Linked DNA regions of Homo sapiens: region 1 is linked to region 2. The links are contacts of gene promoters, found by promoter capture Hi-C in blood cells and fetal thymus (Javierre and others, 2016). All regions are on one chromosome and are shown on one strand. Each heading gives the region's core, a stretch centred on a gene start or on the middle of the fragment in contact. The rest is flanking DNA. Distances are from core to core; before and after follow the strand shown.

What was found. Contacts are between HindIII fragments. The CHiCAGO score rates a contact against its expected background, and 5 or more counts as called.
Region 1: a fragment that was not itself captured here is called in contact with the fragment with the promoter of ABHD10 in region 2 in 1 of 17 cell types (endothelial precursors); the score reaches 9.9 in endothelial precursors.

Annotation. Positions count from the first base shown.
Region 1 is chr3:111,860,448-111,867,251 of GRCh38, forward strand. The region is part of intron 1 of PHLDB2 (pleckstrin homology like domain family B member 2); the gene reads left to right. It overlaps LOC105374040 (a long non-coding RNA gene), which reads right to left and starts at 369. Exons shown (of 4, transcript XR_924333.4): 1 at 213-369. RefSeq lists an enhancer at 142-251. The HindIII fragment of the contact is 2,563 bases long and covers 522-3,084 here.
Region 2 is chr3:111,977,419-111,983,905 of GRCh38, forward strand. ABHD10 (abhydrolase domain containing 10, depalmitoylase) reads left to right here and starts at 1,608. Exons shown (of 5, transcript NM_018394.4): 1 at 1,608-1,785; 2 at 4,366-4,549. The coding sequence starts at 1,644. RefSeq lists enhancers at 1,250-1,809, 1,668-1,717, 1,728-1,777, 1,798-1,847. The HindIII fragment of the contact is 3,690 bases long and covers 1-2,912 here.

The DNA of each region.
Region 1 (6,804 bases), core at 553-3,052, 120 kb before region 2:
AGCTCCCTGCGCGGCGGAGGCGCAGCTGAATCGTTTGCTGGTTCGCTTAATAACTTAGCCCTAGCAGTCATCACTTATTAAAGCGCCGAGGACCTGGCTAACTCCCGCCACCACCAGGAAATTAAAAGGCTGACAGGCTGTCCCTCCCAGGGTTGGGGTTTCCTGTTTGAAAGAGCTTGAGAAGTCAAACTGCTTCGCGGTTCCTCACTTACCTTTCTTATGTAAAAGAGGGAGCGACGCCCGCAGCTTTTTCTCTCGGTAAACTACCCGTGGCTGGAAATCCTCCGGGCGCCTGGCCCTGCCCTCTTCCCTAGAAATCTTTATCCTGCAACTCTGAAGTAGCTCTAAAGAGCTCTAGAATGCACAACTAGTCATAGCCAGGCACAGCTGGGAGTGTAACTAGACGAGGCATAAAAATGTGGAGTCTTTTTAGTGTAAATATTTGTCAGCCACATTTCCCTTCGTAATATGAACGTGTAAGTTACAGATGTAGGTTTTCAAGTATTGGACGTGTAATTTTAAGCTTCCTAGTTTGGTTTAATTTGGGCGTTCGAGATATGTCTCTGGGATTCTAACGTTTGAATTCGGCTGGGAGAGATCTAAATGAGGTCCACAGTTTCAGAAGGTTAAACTTTTGCCCTGTGAACACTTGAATTCTTGGTTCCTGGTAGGTTAGCAACAGAACTGTCGGATTTGGGATAAATAAACCGTTAGAGTTGCCCACTATTTTAACAGAATGGCTATATCTCTCTTGCCGTTGCCTTCAATTGTGTAAATATTTGTTTGAATAAAGAGCGAAGGTTCTTTGAAAAGTAACAGTTCTGTCTATTCTTGGCTCCCCTTTCATATCCTCTGCTTAGTTATTTAAAAGGATTTTCTTTGCCTCTTACATTTAATGGGGAAATTTAAACATTACATGTACTTAAATTCTGTAAAGTTACCAAACCATTTATAACTGGCAAATTATTTAATGACAAGGAAGAGTTGAGTTTGTCGTCTTAGTTGGCTAATGTAGCCTTCATCTCTTGAGACCCAGAGGTTTGCAGATCTCAGCCTGTCAGAAGTGGAAAAATGAGATGTCTGGTTAAGAGTAGTCATCATTTCAGTCAATTTGCAGGCCTCAATCTGTTTTATGCAGCTGGCAGCTGCTGTTCTTTTGGTGTTGAGATCGTCTGCCACGAGTGTCGCCTGGATCCCTGTTTGAAAAGGGGAGGAAAAGATACTTGGGAAATTGGACTGAGAGCTTGCTTACTCCTCCGTTCAATAACTGTGACCAAGCTGAAACTCGTTAGCAACCTTTCCAGAAACGTTTTATTTACCATGTGTGTTTGTTGTGTATGCAAGAGAGGAAAAAATAAGCCAAAGTGATTAACCAATCTCTGGTTTTCCCTATTTTCTTCAAAGCTCCATTTTGAGATCTATAAGCAAGGGTTGACTCTCGAGTTCATTGGAGAAGTTACCTCGGCTCACTACAACTTCTGCCTCCTTGGTTCAAGCCATTTTCCTGCCTCAGCCTCCCGAGTAGCTGGGATTACAGGCGCCTGCCACCACACCTGGCTAATTTTTCTATTTTTAGTAGTGACAGGATTTTGCCATGTTGGTCAGGCTGGTCTCAAACTCTTAACCTCAGGTGATCCACCTGCCTTGGCCTCCCAAAGTACTGGGATTACAGGCATGAGCCACCACACCCGGTCTCCTTTTAAATATTTTTAAAGGAGTAGTTAACGTTATGGCTTTATATCCTGATTTTCAACCCTTAGCAGGGAGGCAGTGCTATGGTGCTGTGGATGGCTTAGAGTGACAGTGGCTTTGTACATTTTCTAGGTGGAGTACCTGTGCCTTATGAATCTATCTGTAAAGTCTTGGTGTACCAATTGTTGATTGTGTAAATGTCACTCTTTTGAAACAAAAACACCTAAGTGATGTGCTTTATCTTAAAGTCCTGACATACATTAGAGCTGTGGTTTTCACTGGGAGAGGGGTTTTGGCCCCCAGAGGATACTGGCAACGTATTTTTGGTTGTAGCAACTGACAGGAGGAGAGTGCTACTGCCATATAGTGGGTAGAGGCCTGGGATGCGGTTAAGCACCCTGCCATGCACGGGACACAAAAACAATTATGCAGCCCCAAACCCTGCACTACAGTATTGCCTGGGGGAGTAGGTTAACAAGATTAGGCATCTTAATCTGATTTGGATCCTCAAGAAACTTGTTTAACTGTGTTAAACAAGAGACCCTTATCATAGAAGCCGTTTTGTATGCAGCAGATTCTTTTGTCCTTGCCATTTAGAGTCTTAATATACCATAGAGGTCGAGGAACTTGTGTTCATTGACAACTTTGAGATGGATTAAAGTCATGGGATTTGGGAGCATTAGAGCACAAGGGAGCCTCAGAGATCACTTAATTTCTACCCCTTCTTTTTATAGATGTAAAAAACTGAGACACTCAGAGCTTTAGGACTCATAAGGTCTCAAGCGAGCTAAGGGCGGGCAGACAAAGTTCTAGGTACAACCCAGGAGTTAAAAATTTTAAAATAGAGATTCAGGCAAATGGGAACAAAAAACAAAACACACTGGACCTGACCTTGTGTAAAAGTTTCAAAGCACCATTCCCTGTGAGAAAATAAATAAATGCTTCGATGGGGGAGGGGTGGCATTAGCCATAGAGACTGTGGGGCACGTGCCTGGGTGCCCCAGTCCCAGAAAGGGGTAATTCCATTATATGACCTGTGACACTCCACTTCTGATGCCTGTACTGTCCTTTCCATGGCAAAGTAGGCAACAGATGGTTCCACAGACATAGCAGATGTTGCTTTTGAATCCAGGTACAAAACAGAACATTTGAGATTTTCTGTTCCTCCCTGCCTTATCGGTTAAGAGTAGAGTACATGAATGGATAGGGCTGGCTTGGACAGAAGGGAGAATTACAGAGGCCTCCTGAGTATGGAAGAAAAAAAGACACCTGGCATATATGGAAATGAGCAAGTGTTGGGGAAATTGTGGGAGAAATTCATAAGCTGATGAGGGGATATCTAATATAAATTCAATTGCATAGAACTAGGATTAAGAATCAGAAGACAATTCAAGCTTAGCTATTCTTTCAGCATGTAGAACAAAATAACTATGGGGGTAAAAGGAACCTTAGAAATCCTCTTATCTGAATCTTTTCCCTCCAACCAACTAACTGGGTTAGATAGCGGCAGAATCTGCAAGCCTCCTGTTCTATTGTACTTTCTCCTGCACCCACAGTCTCTACCATTCCATGTGTTTACCTAATGGGAAAGAAAATGATAGTAAAGAAAGTTATTGTTAATTACTTGGGAGAGTTTAAAAAGCATGGTATTTGTGAATGGCTGTTTATAGAAAGGAGTTACCTTAATGAGTTTATGATTATCAGAAAAGTTGTACACCATAGCCTGATTAATTACAAACATGTATACTCTCCTGTTTACATTGCTATGGTTAGCCATTAGGCTCATGATTATAGATTCTAGTTCTGGGTGCCAAGCTGTCCTCCTGTGGTAGTTATTTTATCTAATACTCAAATCTGACAGGTTCTGGCCATATAGGAAAGTTTTTAGTATGCCTTTGGTGGGAGACATAAAACCTCTGAAAAGTGTTAAGATAGTTTCTTATCATTTTGACAACTAGCCAAAGGGTGCACCTCAAAGCCAAGTACATAGTGATATATTTAGAAATGACTCAAGAGTGATAGCCCTTTTAAGGGATCTGCCCCCCCGCAGGTACTATGCAAAAGGGGTGTAGCAGTCTTTTCATTATCATCTTTCATCTGGCCATTCTTGTTACTGTTTTTCAGATGATGGGAGAGGAGACAGGAGTAGTTTTTAAAAAAATAACTGTTGGCTAGAAATATTTATTGGGATTTGATTAAAGTAACTTGTCTTTTAAAAATAAATGAAACCAAAATTGTTAGCTCAGATTTTCAAATCCCTTCAAAGTAAACATTTAGCAAGGCAGAACTTCTCTCTATGTTCATCCAGGAATTTGAACCTTCTGGGAGTTAATTTGCTTACAGTTGTTTTCATGACGCTTAAGGATGTTTCTTAGACATTGCAGAAAAGGAGCTTTGTGCTGTATCTGCTTTAAAGGCAAGATAGTTGTCTATAGCAGCTAGTGGTCAATAAGAGAAACCCAAGTGTAAAAATCATTTTACTGTTGTGTGGGAAACTAGAGGTTGTAGGTAATTGCTATACAAAGAAACAGATTAATAAGATATAGAGTAACAGGGTTAGTCAAAAAGTTTTTGAGAGGATTTTTACAGGAGATACTTGTTTAGTGTGTTAGGTTGATTTTATTAGATGAAGTGCTTTTCCTTACTTTACAAAGTAAAAGGAAAGAAAATATTGTGTATGCCACTGTTTATCGATGGCCTTAAGCCAGGTCAGCTTTTTCTGAGACTTGCTGCTAATTCAGTGGGAATTGGTGTTGATCATCTTAGAATGTTTTGTTTGCACATTGCATGTGACTGCCCTAGATGGCAGTATGTTCATGGAACTAGCCTATGAAATAGCAAAAAAGTTAAAGATTACAAGAGTTTTCCAAGATTTCTTTCTTGACCACCCTACTGCTAAAACAAGGAAAGATAAAGGCAAAAGAAACCCAGCTCCTACATTCTTTTGACCAGTGCAGACCCAGTGTGAATAGTGCCGCACAGCCAAGAGATATTCAGAGGGGATTGAGAAGTGATGTCTGGCTGCCTCACTGCTTACGTCATTGCAGAAGTAGCTTTTCAAAAACAGCTTAAGATTTATTAAGGAAACTGCAAGCCATGGGAATGCAGACAAAACCTTTCTTATACATCATGCTCAATCAAATACCCATATTATATTACATTACCATAACTCTGACCAGGCCTTTTTCCCACTATGTTATGCTAAAACAATTTACCATGCCTTTGGAATGTCATGGGCAACAGTCCGGTGAAATCTTTTCCCAATTAGGTAGCTGCCACCTTATCACTAAAACTATTTCTGTTCTGTGGTCATTTCCATTTCCTGCATTATGTAATGAGCACTCCTGTGTTATTTAACCAGTATCTGTGGGAGTCCAGAAAGTTGGAGCAGAAAGAACATGTAGTTCACTCTCACCATGTTGAGTATGGAGAAACTCCTGTTGAAACAAAATGAAGACAGGCGAATTGACGTGCTCCAGATCTTAGTTCTGTTAGCAGAACCAGAACTAAGATGGATCTTCTGACTTGCTTCCCTGGCAGCCTATCCAGTGTTCTTTCTACTAGATTGGCCACTGTAATAAAAATAACATCCTAACGTAACCATTTCCTTTATTAGATCTTTTGGCCAGAGTTATTAAAAAAAAAGCATTGATTAAAATTAAATTAAACTTAGTCAATTGTTTATCTTGACTTGTTCAAGTTATTTCCCTTCTTTCAAGCAGTAAGTGGTCAAAAGGTAGATAGCATGGAAGGGAAAAATTAAGTGTTTTATAATACTCATTCTGCACAATCAGCTGCTAAGTAATGAAGATATGATATTATCATAATTATTATTTTTACTTTACAATATTTTAGAAACCTACCCCACCCACTCATTTTTTTTTTTTTTTTTTTTTTTTGGAGACAGAGTTGCTCTGTCACCCAGGCTGGAGTACAGTGGTGCGATCCAGCTCACTGCAACCTCGGCCTCCCAGGTTCAAGTGATTATCCTGCCTCAGCCTCCCGAGTAGCTGGGATTACAGGCATGCACCACCACACCCAGCTAATTTCTGTACTTTAATAGTGATGGGGTTTCGCCATATTGGCCAGGGTGGTCTCAGACTCCTGACCTTTGGTGATCTGCCCACCTCAGCATCACAGAGTGCTGGAATTACAGGCATGAGCCACCGAGCCCGGCCTCATGTACTCAATTTGTGATGTAAAGCGAAATGCATTACAAACATGGAAGATGTGGTTGACCTGTGTTTGTTCCACCTCTTGTGAGCCTGTTTGTACCCTGACTATTCCCAGTTCATAAATCTTGGGTTAGGGAATGGGAATTCCAGCAAGTATTTAGGTCTGGGGAATGTTACTTTGGAAAAATTAAATATTACTCTTAAGGGAGTGTCTTTTGATCAGTAGTGTGGGATGGGGCAGGATGGCGGCAAGATCGGAGAGTTTCCCTCCCATACACTCTCCTCAGCTTCCAGTTAAAGTCCACGGAGGTGGTTTCAGGGTCAAGAGAGAGCATCTTTATCTACATATGATCCCCAGGTTGATAATTCTCTTGCTTGAAATTAGCTTTGAGATCAAAAGATCAGAGGGTGCTTTTCCCTGTAGCACTCCTGTGATTAAAGAAGAGTATCTGAAGTTAGTTATCCCATGATTCTGCACTTCACTGGGTGATTACGTAGTAAAGGAAGACCCTTCTAGCTTTACGGGGGACTTGATCAGGATCCTTGGTTAGGATTCTGTGAAGAACTTGACCTAAAGAGCTCCTCCACTCTCTTCCTTAACATAAGTTTCTAAGGGGTGTGTGTGTGTGTGTGTGTGTGTGTGTGTGTGTGTGTGTGTATTTTAACCTTTTAATTGAGGCTGGAATTCTTGATATGGAGGGTTTGACAGTTTTATGAAGAAATCATTATTTGGGCACGCAGTGGTGACACTTAGCTACCCCACATAACGTTATCTTGCAAATATCTTAAATGTGATGGCCTGCTTACTTGTTATCTTGAAAATGTATTTGCTTTCAAACTTCTCCCAGTTACTTAAAAATACATGTATCAGCTTTTAGGAACTTAATTCAGTATGATAAAGAGTTAGTATTTTATACTTAAAAAAAAAATCAGCTAG
Region 2 (6,487 bases), core at 358-2,857:
TGGAGAACGGGCAACATAGCTCAGCATCTTTTGGAGTATGTCCTGAAATCAAGTTGCTGTCCTTAACTATATGTCCTTAGTAGAGAGAGGCATCCCACCTCTCAAGAAAGAGATCTATTCAGTCTTTATTTATCTAACTGTTCCAGACTGTTCCAACAGTCCAGGTTCTCACGACTCCAAAGACATGCTGGATTCACTATATCCAAACTTTGCCTTTAATTCTGGTACCAATTACTGCCCCCCAAATTTATAACCAGGATAATAAAAGTTACTTTACTATCTTATATATACTCAAAGTATTACACAAGCCACCATAACTTTTAAATAGGAAACTACTACGTAAAACTCCATGGTTGATGCTTGAGGCCCCCAGGAATTAGTTTGAAAGGTATTTAGAGCTGGAGTCCGGAAACCCTTGTACTACAATTTATTCAACTATTTTTCTATTGTTAGCCATTCCCATTTTTTTCCTTCTCTTTGCCTCTAAAAACGGTGTAGTAGATAATATGCAGTCTTAAGAACTAGTGTTGTTTTTCTATAGGATAATCACAAATTGGTGCCACTGCGTTAAAAGGCACTGGAATGGATGCATATTTTAAAATTGTAATAGATGTGGCCATATTACTTCACAACAAATTTTAGTAATTCACCTTCCTAGCAATCATACATAAGTGCTAGTGTCTAGCATCCTTGCCAATTATTTTTCTTTTTTGCCAACTGAATGGGGGGAAAAAGGCATTATTTTTTTAATTCCAGTTTTTCATTTAGTGAGTTTGAGCATCATGTTTCCTTATATGGGCTGCCTATTTATAGCTGTTGGCCAATTTTATTTGAATTATATTTCTTATTTATAGGAGCAGGCTGAGTAGAAGTATTAATGTATCTATGCTACAAAATCCATTTTTCTAAGCTCTTAACTTGAGGTGTCTTTTGCCATTCAAAAAGTTTAAATTCGTATACAAATATATTTTTTATTTATGATGTTGGGGTTTTGAAATCTTGGTTAAGAAAGTCCCTTCTGTCCCCGGATTATATAATATTCTCCTAAAATTTATTTAATCCTCTCAGTTGTATTCTTCCGTTGAAATCTTTTTTTACTGAAATTTATTTTCGCATATAGCACGAGGAGGGGGCCAAGATAATTCAGTATTTCGTTAATCAGGCATATAGATCTAGAGCGGGGAATGTCCGATACCATTCCAGGTTATACAGGCGAGATTAATGTCAGATCTTGGGAGCATTTCCAGTACAGGTTAAAACTGTCACGCGGTCGGCGGGATTGCAGGTGATGCAGCAAGCCTGGTGTCCTCGACAGGAGACGTTTCCCATCTAGGACCGTTGGATAGGGTTCCTTTCTGAGCTTCCAGCTCTGTAGTATCTATCAGCCCGCTGATAGGGCAGCCTCCCGACGCCACTCAAAACATCTTAAAGGCCCCAAGCCAAACCCCGCTACTAGTAGAACCAACAGTCTAAACGAAAGAGCCACGACGCTCTGCGCATGTGCGCTCTTCGCAAGCTGAAAATCTTGCGGGGAGCTCTTTAGCAAGTTCCGCCTTCCAGCCTGAAGCGCATGCGCAGCCTCGGTTCCGTTGCGTAGCGTGTCCCTCAGTGGGACACTGCAGGGTGCGGGGACAACTACGAAGATGGCGGTTGCGCGCTTGGCAGCTGTGGCGGCCTGGGTACCTTGTCGGAGCTGGGGCTGGGCAGCCGTCCCCTTCGGTCCCCACCGTGGCCTCAGCGTGCTGCTTGCACGGATACCTCAGCGGGCGCCACGGTGGCTCCCAGGTCAGTGTCCGAAAGGCGGGAGTAGGATGCGTTCTTTCGAACGCCTCGGGTTCCGTCAGTTACCGTGCCTGTGCAGTGCGTCTTTGGCGCCCGGTTCAAAAATGCTCCTCCCCCTTTCTCAACACCCCAGTTCTAGGCGCTTTGTAGACTTCTGGTGAAGGCTGTGAGGAGAGCTCTGCCGCGGCCCTGCGGCATTCTGGGCACCCCGGGCCCTCGCTGGCGTTTTACACTGTGCAGTTTAAAGAGCTCCTGCTCCTTACCTGCCTCCCCTGCATTAAAGGCCAACACTAGAAAAAATTAAAATGTGCATTTAATGCATTATTATTAGTTACTTCTAGGAATTTGTAGATTGTGACTCCTAAAATGCTTAGACTGACTCTCCTTTGAGTTTAGGGAACCTAACAATGCGAGGCATGTTCTTTGTAAAAGTGTAGACGCCCTCATAAGCCTAATTTCTAGTTCTGCTTTCTTGCTGCACCCACTCAGTGAAAGAACCATAATCATTATTGCACAAAGGAAACTAGAATTTGGGCTAAAAATCAGAGAACCTCTTATATGTATATATAGTCTTTGAATTAGATCCTTTTATTTTTTTGGCTTTGTGTGTGGTTCACACCATTGCCACGTAGCTGTCAGATGATGCATGGTGCTTGGAGTGGTAATTAATGTCACGGCAGAGATCTTTTGTATGGAGATTTTTGTATCCAGTTTTTAAACTTTTATAATCAGATTAACTTGCATTTAATTGTGCGCAACCAAAAGGCATGTTACACATGCAAATACTCCTAGTAAAATGTAGTATGTCAATTCATTAACCAGAGTATAATATTATTTCATCTAGTTAGCACTTATTCATTGAGCACTTATGCACCAGGCTTTGAATTAATCCTTATGTTCAAAGATGATTTATGAATATAATTATATGAATCTGTCTACTTAGAACTTACATTAAATAAATTATAATCATCTCGGGGAAATTATGTTTTAAGAGGTGATTTCTGGAAGAGGATAGTGAGAATTTTTTTTAGTGCTCAGCTGAGTAGATGGGAAATGAACATGAGTGGATCAGCATAACTGGTCCTTACCAAAAGTTTTAAATTTGGCATATTTCTCTATACTTTGAAACAAGCTTTTATGTAAAAAGGATAACTTTAAGGCCTTCAGTTACATCTTTAAAAAATCAACTTCTTAATTACAAAATGGGGAAAACTTTAGCAGCACACATGGATTCTCTTCTCAAGACTGAGAAGTTTTCAAAGTGGAGGACGGCTTCATTTAATATAAAAAAAGAAAATGTATTAGTCCAAAGACTCTAAGGAAGTACACAAAACTAGTGTCTTTGGAAAGAAGAGGTGGGATTATAAATGACTCTTTTAAAAAAATATCTACTTGTTTCTTAAGAGCAAGTATAGATTTTATAATGGGGGAAAATTTGAAAAAGATGAAGTAGGATAATCTTATGAAGTTCACCAATTGTACTGTTGTACTTAAATTACACTAAAATCTCTGTGTACCATTTACAGAAAGCCAAACCAACAAAACGCAAAGTGATTGCATAGGTCTATAAGAAATCTCTTTCCAAAAACGATACTATCATATGTTGTTTTTAAAGAAACTGCTCATTGAACCCACCTCAGCTGACAATAAAATTATGAGTTGTTACCATGGCTCATGATTTCTTGGTTGAGGTAGGCGGATGGGTGGGCGGGTGGATGGGAGTCAGTAATAAAAAGGGCACAGCACGTCCTCCTTTGAAACAATTTTGCAAGGGCAGACCAAACCTGTTTCTTCCCTGACCCCCAAGAAAGTAGGGGATGAAAGGCCAGGCATGGTGGCTCACACCTGTAATTTCAGCAATGGGAGGCCAAGGTGGGAGGGTCACTTGAGCCTGGGAGTTTGAGACCAGTCTGGGCAACATAGTGAGACCCTGTCTCCACAAAAAATACAAAAATTAACCAGGTGTGGTGGTACATGCGTGTAGTGCAGCTACTGGGGAGGCTGAGGTGGGACGATGGCTTGAGCCTGAGGAGTCGAGGAAGTCCAGGCTGCCGTAAGCTAGGATTGCACCACTGCACTCTAGCCTGAGTGACAAGGTGAGACCCTGTCTCAAAAAAAAAAAAAAAAAAAAAAGAAAGAAAATAAGGGATGTGAAACTTGTCAAACAAAAAATAAATTTAAAAACAAAGCCAAAAATCTCACAAGAGAGGGCTGAAACTATTGCGGGTAAATCTGAATGTTGATTGATACTGTTTAGAATACATGATAAAGCAGTAACAAGAAAATGTTTTTCGATTAGTCTCTGTCTTTTGTTGTCTTGAAATTCCTACCGCATTGTGTATTTTGGAAGAATCAAGATTGGACTTTGCTCAAAGAAGTTACTGATGTTGGCATGATTTTAAAACTGGAGATCTCATGCACAGACTTACTTAGTACTTTGAGTCTGTTCTTGTTTTTTCTATTAAATGGAAATAGTATTTAACATCAATTCATTGAGATAAGAAAGTTAAGATCGAAAATATATATGGTTTTCCAAAGACTGAGTTTACAAACCATAGTTTACTTTTTGTGTACTTTGTTTAGCTTGTAGACAAAAGACGTCACTCTCATTCCTTAATCGACCAGACCTTCCAAACCTGGCTTATAAGAAGCTAAAAGGCAAAAGTCCAGGAATTATCTTCATCCCTGGCTATCTTTCTTATATGAATGGTACAAAAGCGTTGGCGATTGAGGAGTTTTGCAAATCTCTAGGTCACGCCTGCATAAGGTAGGAACAACACATTACTGAGAAAATATTGCTACTGTTAGCATTACAGTGGAGAATTACTTCTGTTCTAATCAGTTGAAGTAAATGCCAGCATTTTTATACATTATTTTAATGGTCTGTAAACTTGCATCTTGTGATTTAGGGTAATTTTAAAAGCAACCTTTAAAAGACCTTTTTTAAAGGCCTTTGTGCCACGCTGACAACCCTGGCAGAAAAGGACATCTTAAGGGAAATATTGGTAACTAAGCTCTTTAGAGGCAATAATGTATGTGACAACAAACAGATATACTAGTTGGCTTTCATACAGTCTCTTATATTATCATTTTCCACTGGGGACTTAAGGACTTTATTTGATCACTGTTTATCTAAAAGTAATACATGTATTTAAAAGTATCATAATGCAAATTTCTGCTGAGTTTTCTCTTCCCTCTCCTGTAATCTGAATATGTATAAGCATAAATAGGGATAAGTGGTACTTAACTCAAGCTTGATTTTATAATTCCTAATTTTTCACACTGAGAGTTATTTTAGTAAATAACTTTATGTTATTATAAGGTCTACCTGTAGCAGTTATATGTTTAGTATCCACTGTCCAGAAGAGATGGTATGATTTCGTAAAAAGAAGATTAGCCTGGAATTCAAGAAACATGAGTTCTAGAATAAATTCGAGCAATAACTATGACAAGACAAGTAAGTTAATAAACATTGGACCTAAGTTTGTCATCAAAAGAAGGAGGTTGGACTAGAGATAACTTCTGAGTTATTTTCTAGCACTAACAGCCTAAAAATCTATCCATCTAAATTTTTAGAAGAGTGACTCACAAACATTCATTCAATAATTCTAGAAAATACAGCTGTATATAAAACTTTCAGACTACCTGTTCAATATATTAGCAGCAATTATGTCAATTATAAAATTAAATAAGATTTAATCTTATTTCTTTTACCAAACTAATGAATTATTTTATTTTCATACTCAGAACTATGTTAAAATCTGTTCTGACTTATTCTGAAGATTGGAGTACTTTTTGGAAATAGATTCTCTAGCACTATACTGAGTGCTGCATAATAACAAAGAATTATAAAACATTGTACTTGCCTATGAGGACCTTTCATTCAGGGTGGGGAAACACAAGATAAAATACATGTTAGAAATTTGGCAGAAATACTCATCAGAATGTGATTGTGTCAAAAGAACAGTATACTTAATTGCATAAAGTTAGAGACAGTGGGATTGAAATAGATAAAGGAACGTTGAAGAATAATTCAGATTTGGGTGGGAGGGAAGTGCTGTCCAAGGAGGGGGACTGTCCTGAGCAGAAGATCATAATATCAAAAATATTGTTATCACTTTTCTTTTTTGCCACTGAATAAATTTGAATCGAGAAATCACCATTTTACCAGTTCTAAAATTTCAGCTTTGAGACTATGAGAGTTATAACCAGTTCCTGTCTCCCTATAAGACATAATGTGGCTTTTCTGCATTTTTGGATCCTGTGTGAGTATACCTTCATAAAGAATAGTGCTTAACTACAAATATTTAGTTTGAACAAGTTCCATTTTATTTGCTCTTATCAAAGTTCATCACAGTCTAATTATTGTTAACTATTGATTGCACTTTATTATAAGAGATTTTATCTTCTATTCTCTAATTTTTCAGGTTGCTTTTGTTGGGATTTTTTGCTGTAAAATTTAGATCTTCAATGATGAAATAGTTTATTACACAAGAAATAAAACATATGACTATATGAAAATGTTTTATTAAGGTCCTATCACCATGCCTAAAATAAGACTGATTCAGATCTCAGGAATATAACATATGGTTTTAAGGCTGGTATTCTCTCATAATTATTTGTAATAGAATTTTTATTTGGGACTACATCCCAGACTATTGAGGCTGCTAAGATGGAGATGTGCTACTGTTTAAAAGTTTTAAAG